Linked DNA regions of Homo sapiens: region 1 is linked to region 2. Evidence: promoter capture Hi-C in 16 types of primary human blood cells and fetal thymus (Javierre and others, 2016). All regions are on one chromosome and are shown on one strand. The core of a region is centred on a gene start or on the middle of the fragment in contact, and the rest is flanking DNA. Distances in the headings are between cores, read along the strand shown. Region 1 holds the start of CTTNBP2NL (CTTNBP2 N-terminal like). Region 2 holds the start of LRIG2 (leucine rich repeats and immunoglobulin like domains 2).

Region 1 (5,056 bases), core at 2,148-4,647, 680 kb before region 2:
CCCAGAAGGAGCCAACCTTGTCAACACCCTGATTTTTTTTTGTTTGTTTGTTTTTTTGAGACAGAGTTTCGCTCTTTGTTGCCCAGGGTGGAGTGCAGTGGCGCGATCTCGGCTCACTGCAACCTCCATCTCCTGGGTTCAAGCGATTCTCCTGCCTCAGTCTTCCAAGTAGCTGGGATTACAGGCACCCGCCACCATGCCCAGCTAATTTTTGTATTGTTAGTAGAGACGGGGTTTCACCATGTTGGCCAGGCTGGTCTAGAACTCCTGACCTCAGGTGATCCACCCACCTCAGCCTCCCAAAGTGCTAGGATTACAGGAGTGAGCCACTGCACTCGTCCAACACCCTGATTTTGTACTTCTAGCCTCAAGAACTGAGACAGAACACATTTCTGTTGTTTTAAGCTGCCCAGATAGAAACTACTATAGTTGATGACAGAATAAGAACTAGACTCCAGATTTTTTAACCTCTAGCCTAGACCTCTTTTACTCCATTGCTGCCTCCCCAAACCAGCAATAAACATTTATGGAAATTTACTTATTTGGAAAAAAATTGACACAATCTATAATTTTTAAGCACTTTAAGTTGTTGCCTGACACAATAGGCATTTAATAAATATTTTACTGTCCAGTTGATAAAATGATAGACATTAAAATGTTATATTTTGTTATACAAATCTAAGATATTGTTATGAACCATTTTTTACCTCTGCGTACACCTATGCACCAGACTCTAAATTTATTTACAAGGTTTATGTATTGAAGAATCACAAACCTCCATAACTCTCTCACTGCTACAATCTGAAAGATACACGAGGTTCACAAGCCCTGCCTGTTCCCTACTTCTAGGGGTGAAAAATTAAAAGGAAAGCAATCTGAACACCCTCAAGACTCTGAATCCTACAAGGCAGGGATGTTCTCATTTTTGCTGAGTCCTTCTACACTCATTTAGGAATACGCAGAAGGGAAGCCAGGAAATCAGGGGAGTTGCCCATTGCTCTAAAGGAAGTAGGTCACAGAGCACTGCTCCCACCCAGTCAGCCAGGGAAAAGAATGGGTGGTGGTGGGTTAACAGCTACAAAGGGAATGAGGGAAAGAAAGGAGGACCTGCCGGGCATGGTGGTTTACGCCTGTCATCCCAGCCACTTTGGGAGGCCAGCAGGTGGATCACCTGAGGTCAGGAGTTTGAGACCAGCCTGGCCAACATGGCAAAACCCCATCTCTACTAAAAATATAAAAATTAGCTGGGCACAGTGACAGGCGCCTATAATCCCAGCTACTCGGAAAGCTGAGGCAGGAGAATCGCTTGAACCCAGAAGGCGGAGGTTGTAGTGAGAGATTGCGCCATTGCACTCCAGTCTGGGAGACAGAGCGAGACTCCATCTCGATAAAAAAAAAAAAAAAAAAGAAAAGAAAAACAAGGGAGGAGCTGATTCACTAGAACAACTCTTAGAGTGACTCAGAAGCCAGCAGAAAATAGCTTGTTCTCCCACATCTGCTTCATTGTCAGGCGATGAGGCACTTCCTCATTGCATACACATAGGCAGAGCGAAAGGGAGGAGGAGGAAATGGGATTTTTCAAGTTCCTTTGCCTGCTCCAGCACCTAACACTCTGTATTTGTAATCATTTCAGACATTTTGTTTCAAGTCAATATTTATTGAGTACCTACTCTGTGCCTGGCCCCTCATTTTAGCTTTCAGATTGTCAGTTTTCAGAACACAAGGCATAATGCCTTTCTGAAGTTCAGTATACCCTGCATCATTACTCCAGATTCACTTACACTGCTATCGAGCACCTTCACTCATAGTCTTGCTATCCTTCATATACAGAGATGACCCTCCCAAGCCTAAAATCAACAGGGGGAGGCATAGAGCTGTCCTTCTGGCTCTAATGTTTGCTTTACCATCATCCACGCCCATTCTTAGTCCAGCATGTGAGAGCCAGTGTGAAGTGAGCAGAATATGGCATAAGTATGGAGTCATACATCCTTACTGGAAATTCTTTACCATTTACTAGCTCTATGACTTTATTTGACTTCTCTGAATCTCTATCTTCTCATCTGTAAATTGGACACAATGATGTCTATCCTACACTGTAGGATAGATTTCTCATACAGCACTGAAAATGACATCAAATACCATTAAATGAAAGTACATGGCACAGTGATAACATGATAAATACTTGTTTACTTCTTTCAGACTATAATCGCACAAACTGATCACATCCCTCAGTCAGACTGTAAACTGCATGAGGCAGGCTGCATCTGCCTTGGGGACTGTCTGCCTAGGCAAGCACTAGGTCCCTAATGCTGTCTTGCGAATTATAATTGCTAAGTTTAGGGATAATGTATTAAGTGTACTACATTATTTATGCATTATGAATATTCGTCTCAAATATTTATTATATTGTATTTTAAATAATGTGGTTATTGTAAATGTAACCAGCTGCATCAATCTGTGAGCTGACAGCCATTCTGTGGAAAAGGAATTCAGAAACTTTGACCTTAGGTAGGGATACAACTAGTTATACATCCACTCCCCTCTCTGAGTTATTTGGTCCTGCCTAAGACTTGCTGCCACCAAGATCTGCATTCCTGTGTTCACAAGGCAGACATTCCTTGCATCCTCTGTACTCTCCATTGTTTCAACTTCACTGCAAACACCATTCCCCACAATATAATGAGGCCAAGGAAAGAAAAAAGTCGCCTCAGCTGGCAAGCATAGGGTGGAAAAACCTGCCACACAAATTTGCAATTATTTGACTTCCGCCTGGAAGGCAGGTCGGCTGGGTTTATGTCCCCCAAAGTTAGTATCCTCTTCTGTACAAAATGTGGTTGAGAGAAGGGTGATCTCCAGGTGTTTCATCTTTGCACCCTTGCTTCCAGCACCACGCCCACAGGCGCTTCCAGAAAAAAGAAAAAAAAAAAGGGAGCAAGGAAGCCAGGTTTTTCAACAACGAATTCATTCTAATGCAGACACCAAAGCCCACTTCATTTATTAACATTCTGGATAAAATCCCAATCGATTAGGCCACCAGAGCCCTCCATTCCTAAACTCCGCGTACAGTCAGGTAAAAGCACGAAGCACTAGTCACGGTCCTGCCCAGACTTTTCACGCAGAGGTGGAAAGTTGCAGACCCCGAGCCGGGAGGGGCGCGAGCCCACCCTGAAGCCCAGGACCCAGGAGGGCGCTTCCTCCCGGAAGTGACGCGAGCTCAATCCCGGCCTTGCTCTTCCCAAACAAAAGGGATCTTGGGGCCCCGGGAGGAGCCTGAATGACTTTGGAGAAGCCCCGCCTCCAGCCGGCGCGGATTGGGGCCGAGGCTGGAGAAGCAAGGAGGCGATTGGCGCTGGTGAATGCCAATGCCCCCGCCGGGCGGCTGAGGGGGCGGAGCCTCAGCCGCTGTGGATGGGGAGTGGAGGCGGAGGGGAGCGGAGCCCGGAGCGTCGTGGAAAGGTAGGAGCAACTATCCCTGGGGCTTGGTGATGGCTGGGAGGCCGGGTTCTCAAGAGCAAAGCAAGGATAGGGGCACCGGTAGCCTCCCGCCGCCGTCTCAACGGCCTCTGGGCCCATCCCCTGAGGGGGCGGGGCCGTCTCCTCCACCTCCCGGTATTCCCCGAGGAGGCGGCTCCTCATCCTCCGAGGGTCCTCACAGCTACTTTTTGTCCCTCGTCGATTCCCAGCTCCTCAGAAGGGGCTTCCCTCTGACACCCCTCATTCAAAGGCACCTCCCACCCCGCACCTCAGCCTTGGCGGAGAGGACTCACAGGTACCGATTCTCTAGGCTGCCGCCCCCAACCCCATTTCGTACCCCCGGAAGGCCAAACATCCCTCCCTACACCTGTCCCTGCTCGCCAGGGTGGGACTGGAGCTGCTTTCCTCCGTAAGATAAAATTGGTGTTTCCCAAAAAGGAGGGATGGGGCGAAGCAAAAATCAAAGACCGACCTAGACAGCCAGCTTTACGGAGGAAGCGGCTTCTCCCACTTAAGTTCTTCCCATCCCCCATTCTCTGATGCTCAGTCTTCCTCCCGCAGCCCCTCGCATCCTCTGGCCTCTTGTGAGGAGTCGAGAGCTCTCCTGTTTTGGGACTGTTTTGGACTGTGAAAGAGGGAGAACTAGGACCTCCTCTCCTTCACCCTTTGTACCTTCCTTCTACTTTCTGTTCCTTCTGGGAGCACCCAGCCTCTAAGGGTTTCTTAGGTTTGAATTGCGTTTCATTTTTCCTTTTCCACCCTATTTCCTCCCTGAGAACTTGATGAAAAGCCATCTTATATTTCACAGTGAGGTGGGTGTGTTGGATATCTGCAGAGCTGGCTTTGTGTGGGCAGGAATGCAGTATATGTTGCTTGACAGTCAATGAATAACACCATGTTTTCAAATGAAACAGTATACATAAGTAAATAAGTAGCAGTGGATTAGGAATGAGTATATCCCAGTCTAGGGTGGGCTGGTCCATTGCTCAGGGAGACTGCAGTTAACCTTGAAGGTATACTGCAGGTTGAAACAAAAGACAGGAAGTGTTTGAAGAAAATTCAGGGTCAGTCATCTAGGTTTATGATTAATCTAGTCCTATGTCCTTTGGTAACTCTCTAACCCCTTTTTTATAGTGTCCTCCCCGCCCCCAGGAAACATTCATGTATATTTTGATTGGTTTTACGATCATCTATCAAAATTTAGAGGATGAAAAGTAAGAACAATTTTTAAATCTCAGAGATAAGAGTAAATAAAGGCAAGGTATTCTAGCTATTCATGTTTACCAAAAAGTGCCTCTTCTAGTGTGCTCCTAAAGGTTTTGTCAAGTGGTCTTCATTTCAGCAGGTGCAAAGTGTTGATTTTGACCTCATGTTAATGTCGTTGAATCCCCAGTAATCATCTATTGCTAGCGCTTTTATATATTAAAATTTACCATGTTTTTAGCATAGTTTCTTTTGCTTCCAATCTCAAGTCTACCTCCCCTCTGTCAGCTATAGCCAAAGCTGATGGCAATAAAATGCAAGGAGTTGGAATCACGGAGGGTGATTGTAATGACTGTTGTCTTTTACCTTCTTGATTAGA
Region 2 (5,397 bases), core at 1,838-4,337:
GGCCAGCCGCCCCGTCCGGGAGGGAGGTGGGGGGGGTCAGCCCCCCCGCCCAGCCAGCCGCCCTGTCCGGGAGGTGAGGGGCGCCTCTGCCCGGCCGCCCCTACTGGGAAGTGAGGAGCCCCTCTGCCCGGCCAGCCGCCCCGTCCGGGAGGGAGGTGGGGGGGTCGGCCCCCCGCCCGGCCAGCCGCCCCGTCCGGGAGGGAGGTGGGGGGGGTCGGCCCCCCTGCCCGGCCAGCCGCCCCGTCCGGGAGGTGAGGGGCGCCTCTGCCCGGCCAGCCGCCCCGTCCGGGAGGGAGGTGGGGGGGTCAGCCCCCCGCCCGGCCAGCCGCCCCGTCCGGGAGGGAGGTTGGGGGGTCAGCCCCCCGCCCGGCCAGCCGCCCCGTCCGGGAGGGAGGTGGGGGGGGTCAGCCCCCCTGCCCGGCCAGCCGCCCCGTCCGGGAGGTGAGGGGCGCCTCTGCCCGGCCGCCCCTACTGGGAAGTGAGGAGCCCCTCTGCCCGGCCACCACCCCGTCTGGGAGGTGTGCCCAACAGCTCATTGAGAACGGGCCAGGATGACAATGGCGGCTTTGTGGAATAGAAAGGCGGGAAAGGTGGGGAAAAGATTGAGAAATCGGATGGTTGCCGTGTCTGTGTAGAAAGAAGTAGACATGGGAGACTTTTCATTTTGTTCTGCACTAAGAAAAATTCCTCTGCCTTGGGATCCTGTTGATCTGTGACCTTACCCCCAACCCTGTGCTCTCTGAAACATGTGCTGTGTCCACTCAGGGTTAAATGGATTAAGGGCGGTGCAAGATGTGCTTTGTTAAACAGATGCTTGAAGGCAGCATGCTCGTTAAGAGTCATCACCACTCCCTAATCTCAAGTACCCAGGGACACAAACACTGCGGAAGGCCGCAGGGTCCTCTGCCTAGGAAAACCAGAGACCTTTGTTCACTTGTTTATCTGCTGACCTTCCCTCCACTATTGTCCCATGACCCTGCCAAATCCCCCTCTGTGAGAAACACCCAAGAATTATCAATAAAAAAATAAATTAAAAAAAAAAAAAAAAAACACATATTTGCGGCTGGGTGTGGTGGCTCATGCTTGAAATCCCAGCACTCTGGGAGGCCGAGGCGGGCGGATCACCTAAGGTTGGGAGTTCGAGACCAGCCTGACCAACATGGAGAAACCCCATCTCTACTAAAACTACAAAATTAGCTGGGCGTGGTGGCGCATGACTGTAATCCCAGCTACTCAGGAGGCTGAGGCAGGAGAATCGCTTGAATCCAGGAGGCGGAGGTTGCGGTGAGCCGAGATTGTGCCATTGCACTCCAGCCTGGGCAACAATAATGAAATTTTGTCTCAAAAAAAAAACAAAAAAAACAAAAAAAACAAAAAAAACGTGTATTTGTGGCCAGTCACAGTGGCTCATGCCTGTAATCCCAGCACTTTGAGAGCCCGAGGTGGGTGGATCACCTGAGGTCAGGAGTTCGAGACCAGCCTGGCCAAAAAGGCAAAACCCCGTCTCTACTAAAAATACAAAAATTAGCCGGGCATGGTGGTGCACACCTGTAGTCCCAGCTACTAGGCAGGCTGAGGCAGGAGAATCGCTTGAATACGGCAGGCAGAGATTGCAGTGAGCCACTTACTGCGGAGGATACAGGTTAGAGAGCATTAATTTCTAATGGCCCCATTTGGTATAGTTTCATAGGAAAGCTCTGAAACTATAATGTAGAAAGGAACTAAACTGCCTCCTTTTTTTTTTTGTAAGGTTCCTGCCTATGCCGGATTTCTTACCAGAGTTTGTTAAGTCTGCTCAACAGCTAAGGGAAGAAGGCTAAGAGTAAGTTTCATTCCGCTGTCTTGGCTTTAAAAGTTTGGTTTGGACTGTAGCATTGGATATGGCCTTGTTTCCAATATATACTTCAATATTAAAAAAAAAAAACAGAAAAAGGTTTTTAAAAACATAATTATGACTCCATAATCTGCCATGGGAAAGATTGCTTTCAGTTACTTTCTATGAGAACCCTAACCTAGGCATTATCATTCTTTTTAACCTGCTCAGATTTTCAATTTATGTCAGAAAACCCATGTTAATGTCGAACCTGCCCCTGCCTCAAGAGTAACTTGGTTTAACCTCTTGGGGCTTGTTGCATCATCAGCAATAATTGTCTTGCCAATGTCACAGTCACTGAAGGAGCAAACAAGATAACAGATGCAAACGCCCTTTGAAAAGTTCACTACGTATAAGTGAACCATCACTATTATTCTCAAAGTCTTATTTACAACCTTGGATGGCTGAATGAGCATAAGATGGCCAGACTTCACTGTTCCTAGTAAGTTTTCCATAGCCTCTGCTTTAGGAGAAATAAATTTCCTCACATCCAGTCTTTGCTTTGTTGACTGCTCAACACCCTCTTGTCTCGCTTGCTTTTCTGAGAGTGACCTTGACAGCATCCCTCCAAAGAGAAGGGTATTTCCTTTATATAGACATGCAGGTGCAGTCCCACCAAAATTTATTGAACTCCAAGCTAGAACAAAAGGTGGAGGTGCACCGATGAAGAAACAGGGCCTCTGCCTTCAGGAGCTTACAAGGCCATTAACAGAGAGTGATATTGATCTTATGCAAATGGCAGTTGCCGCCTACTTGCAGAAGAGCAGGGGCTACAGCCAAGCAGCAGGGGGCAGAAGAGGCTCGAGCTCGGCTCTGGAGGCCGATCTGGCCAAAGCCAGGATAGAAGCTCCCGTGACCCATTCGTGTGTGCGACTTGGAAGGCAGCCCTTCTGCCACTCCCCTTTCTTAAAGCCCAGAGCAAATAAAAGATCCTTTTCTACTACAGTAGATATACCTGTAGTCAGGACTTTGAACTCACAGCTATTCGCCGCACCATTCCCTCTTAAGGAACTACTGCGCCCTCCAGCGGAAGAACAGCGGCGGAACTCCACAGCGGCAGCTAAAATCCCTGAACGCTTTAAAGTCCTTCTCCTCAAGATACTCGGCTGCGTCTGGCCCCGCCCCTCACTGAGTTCCGCCCCGGGCGCAACCTCATCTTATGGCACCGATTGGCTGGCCCCTGTGCGTGAGGACGTTGCGCCGTGGGGAGGGGCGGACGAGAGGTGTCCGTCAGGCCGTGTGTCCCAGGCCGTCGACCCCGCTGTCGCGCTGCGTCTGCTCCTTGCATGCCTTTAGATGGTACAGCCTTCAGCCGGGGCTTCGGGAGACAGTGCAGCCACCGAGCATCTCTGCTGAGCTTCTCCGCCGATCCTCCTTTTCTAGCAGGCAGCTCTTCTAGGCCACGTCCAGGTCGAGGGGGAAAATGGCGCCGGCGCCCCTAGGCGTCCCGGAGGAGCAGTTGCTGGGGTGTCGATCTAGAGTGCTTTCTCGGTTACTCTTCATTGCCCAGACCGCTCTCCTCCTGTTGCCCGCCGCCGGAGCAGGTCTCTGCCCCGCGCCCTGCTCCTGCCGCATTCCTCTCCTGGACTGCAGTCGCAGGAAATTGCCCGCACCGAGCTGGAGGGCGCTGTCGGGCTTGCTGCCCCCCGACACCGCTATCCTGTGAGTAGAGCGGCCAGGCAGAGTGACCAAAAGGAGGGGGAGCCTTCCCTCTACAGGGGGCAGGCAGGAGGGAGACAGGCCTGGTCGGAGGGTGTGGTCGAGAGCCTAAGCTCTGAAGGAAACTGCCGTCAGGATTTTATGAACTTTGTTTTAGGTGGTGGGAGCCTAAAAAAGCCGGTGTTAAGGTTTCTGGAGAATTGTATGAAGACGAGGGTTAAGATTCTTGGGGCCAAGGAGTCTGTGATTTCCTCAACTGGGGAGGAAATGGGGCGGGCATATTTAATGGTAAGGACTCACGGGTCCTGGGCACCAGCATTGACTTTGGATGGTTGGTGGGGCGGGGGGTGGGTTGAGCACGGAACAGTGCTTTCTGCTTATCTTGAGCTGCATGATTTGGTGTGTACCTCAGACTTAGTGGTCCTCAGGCACGTGATTTTATAATCACAATCGCCAAAGACCTATGAACTGTCTTTAGTCCTTAGTTCGCATGTTGGCTGATTTTGTGCTGCAGTTTTGATACTTAACAGGGTTGAAAAGTTCATTATGATGAATCAGGAGATCCTGTAATTCAGAATATCTTTGTAAGTAGCATTCTTGATCTAATTTAAACTTCACTGTAAAGAGGAGGAGTATTTTTTGCAGAACCATTTGATGCTTTGTTTTCAGCGCATCTTCTTGTGGCAAAGAACCCAAAAATCAGTTCTGCTTATTTATGTAGGTAAAGCAGGTACAACGGTTGAATGAATTCTGGAGTTTCCACTGTTGAGTTTTCACTTTGACAGGTCTTTATTAGACAGTGGAACTTGGAGGGCTCCTTAGTCTGAGTCAGCCTGGTGGTATTAGGAACAACAGCAGGTATTAAATGCTGCAATTATGGGGCTTCTTAACCACTAACATACAGTTATTTCTCGTCACTAACTGAGCAGCACGTTTATTAACTGACAGATTTCTGATGGAGTCGTTAAGAAAGAGTCATCAATGGGCCAGGCGCGGTGGCTCACGCCTGTAATCCCAGCACTTTGGGAGGCCGAGGCGGGCCGATCACGAGGTCAAGAGATCGAGACCATCCTGGCCAACATGGTGAAACCCCGTCTCTACTAAAAATACAAAAAAATTAGCTGGGTGTGGTGGTGTGCGCCTGTAGTCCCAGCTACTCGGGAGGCTGAGGCAGGAGAATCGCTTGAACCCGGGAGGTGGAGGTTGCAGTGAGCTGAGATCACGCCACTGCACTCCAGCCTGAAAACAGAGCGAGACTCCGTCTGGGGGGAGGGAGGGTCGGGGAGGAAGAGGGGCCGGGTGCGGTGGCTCACGCTTGTAATCCCAGCACTCTGGGAGGCTGAGGCGGGCTGATCACCTAAGGTTGGGAGTTCGAGACCAACCTGACCAACATGGAGAAACCCCATCTCTACTAAAAATGCAAAGTTAGCTGGGTGTGGTGGCGCGTGCCTGTAATACTAGCTACACCCTGAGGCAGGAGAATCACTTGAACCCGGGAGGGCGAGGTTGGAGTGAGCCGAGATCGTGCCATTGCACTCCAGCCTGGGCAACAAGAGTGAAACTCTGTCTCAAAAAAAAAAAGAGTCATCACTAAAAAAATAGGTTGAAGTGCAATTAAAATATGAGAGGCTGCTTGGATTTTTATTGGAAATAGAATACAAATAAGAGGTGTTGCGGAGTTTAAGAAGTATTTATATATTTGCAAATAGGTTAGCACAGATAGGAAAGAAAGCTACCTCATGTAGTCATTGAAAAAATTAACATAAATAATCAAATCTTTTAGTAAACATAGAACTGCAGTGTAGTAAGATGCTTTCTCTTTCATGGTAGTGACACCTGTAGTCACTTCTGGTTTTATTGACCCA

The links. The method cuts DNA at HindIII sites, captures the fragments that hold promoters and counts their contacts. A CHiCAGO score of 5 or more calls a contact.
Region 1: a contact is called between the fragment with the promoter of CTTNBP2NL here and the fragment with the promoter of LRIG2 in region 2, in 2 of 17 cell types (neutrophils and non-activated CD4 T cells). The highest score is 9.3, in neutrophils.

The regions. Positions count from the first base shown.
Region 1 is chr1:112,392,817-112,397,872 of GRCh38, forward strand. It overlaps CTTNBP2NL (CTTNBP2 N-terminal like), which reads left to right and starts at 3,398. Exons shown (of 6, transcript NM_018704.3): 1 at 3,398-3,456. RefSeq lists a silencer at 3,596-3,645. The HindIII fragment of the contact is 10,453 bases long and covers 1-5,056 here.
Region 2 is chr1:113,070,111-113,075,507 of GRCh38, forward strand. It overlaps LRIG2 (leucine rich repeats and immunoglobulin like domains 2), which reads left to right and starts at 3,088. Exons shown (of 18, transcript NM_014813.3): 1 at 3,088-3,535. The coding sequence starts at 3,297. LRIG2-DT (LRIG2 divergent transcript) reads right to left here and starts at 2,992. Exons shown (of 3, transcript NR_103777.1): 1 at 2,829-2,992. RefSeq lists enhancers at 2,559-2,808, 2,867-3,400, 3,059-3,368, 3,401-3,932, 3,549-3,608 and 1 more. The HindIII fragment of the contact is 20,110 bases long and covers 1-5,397 here.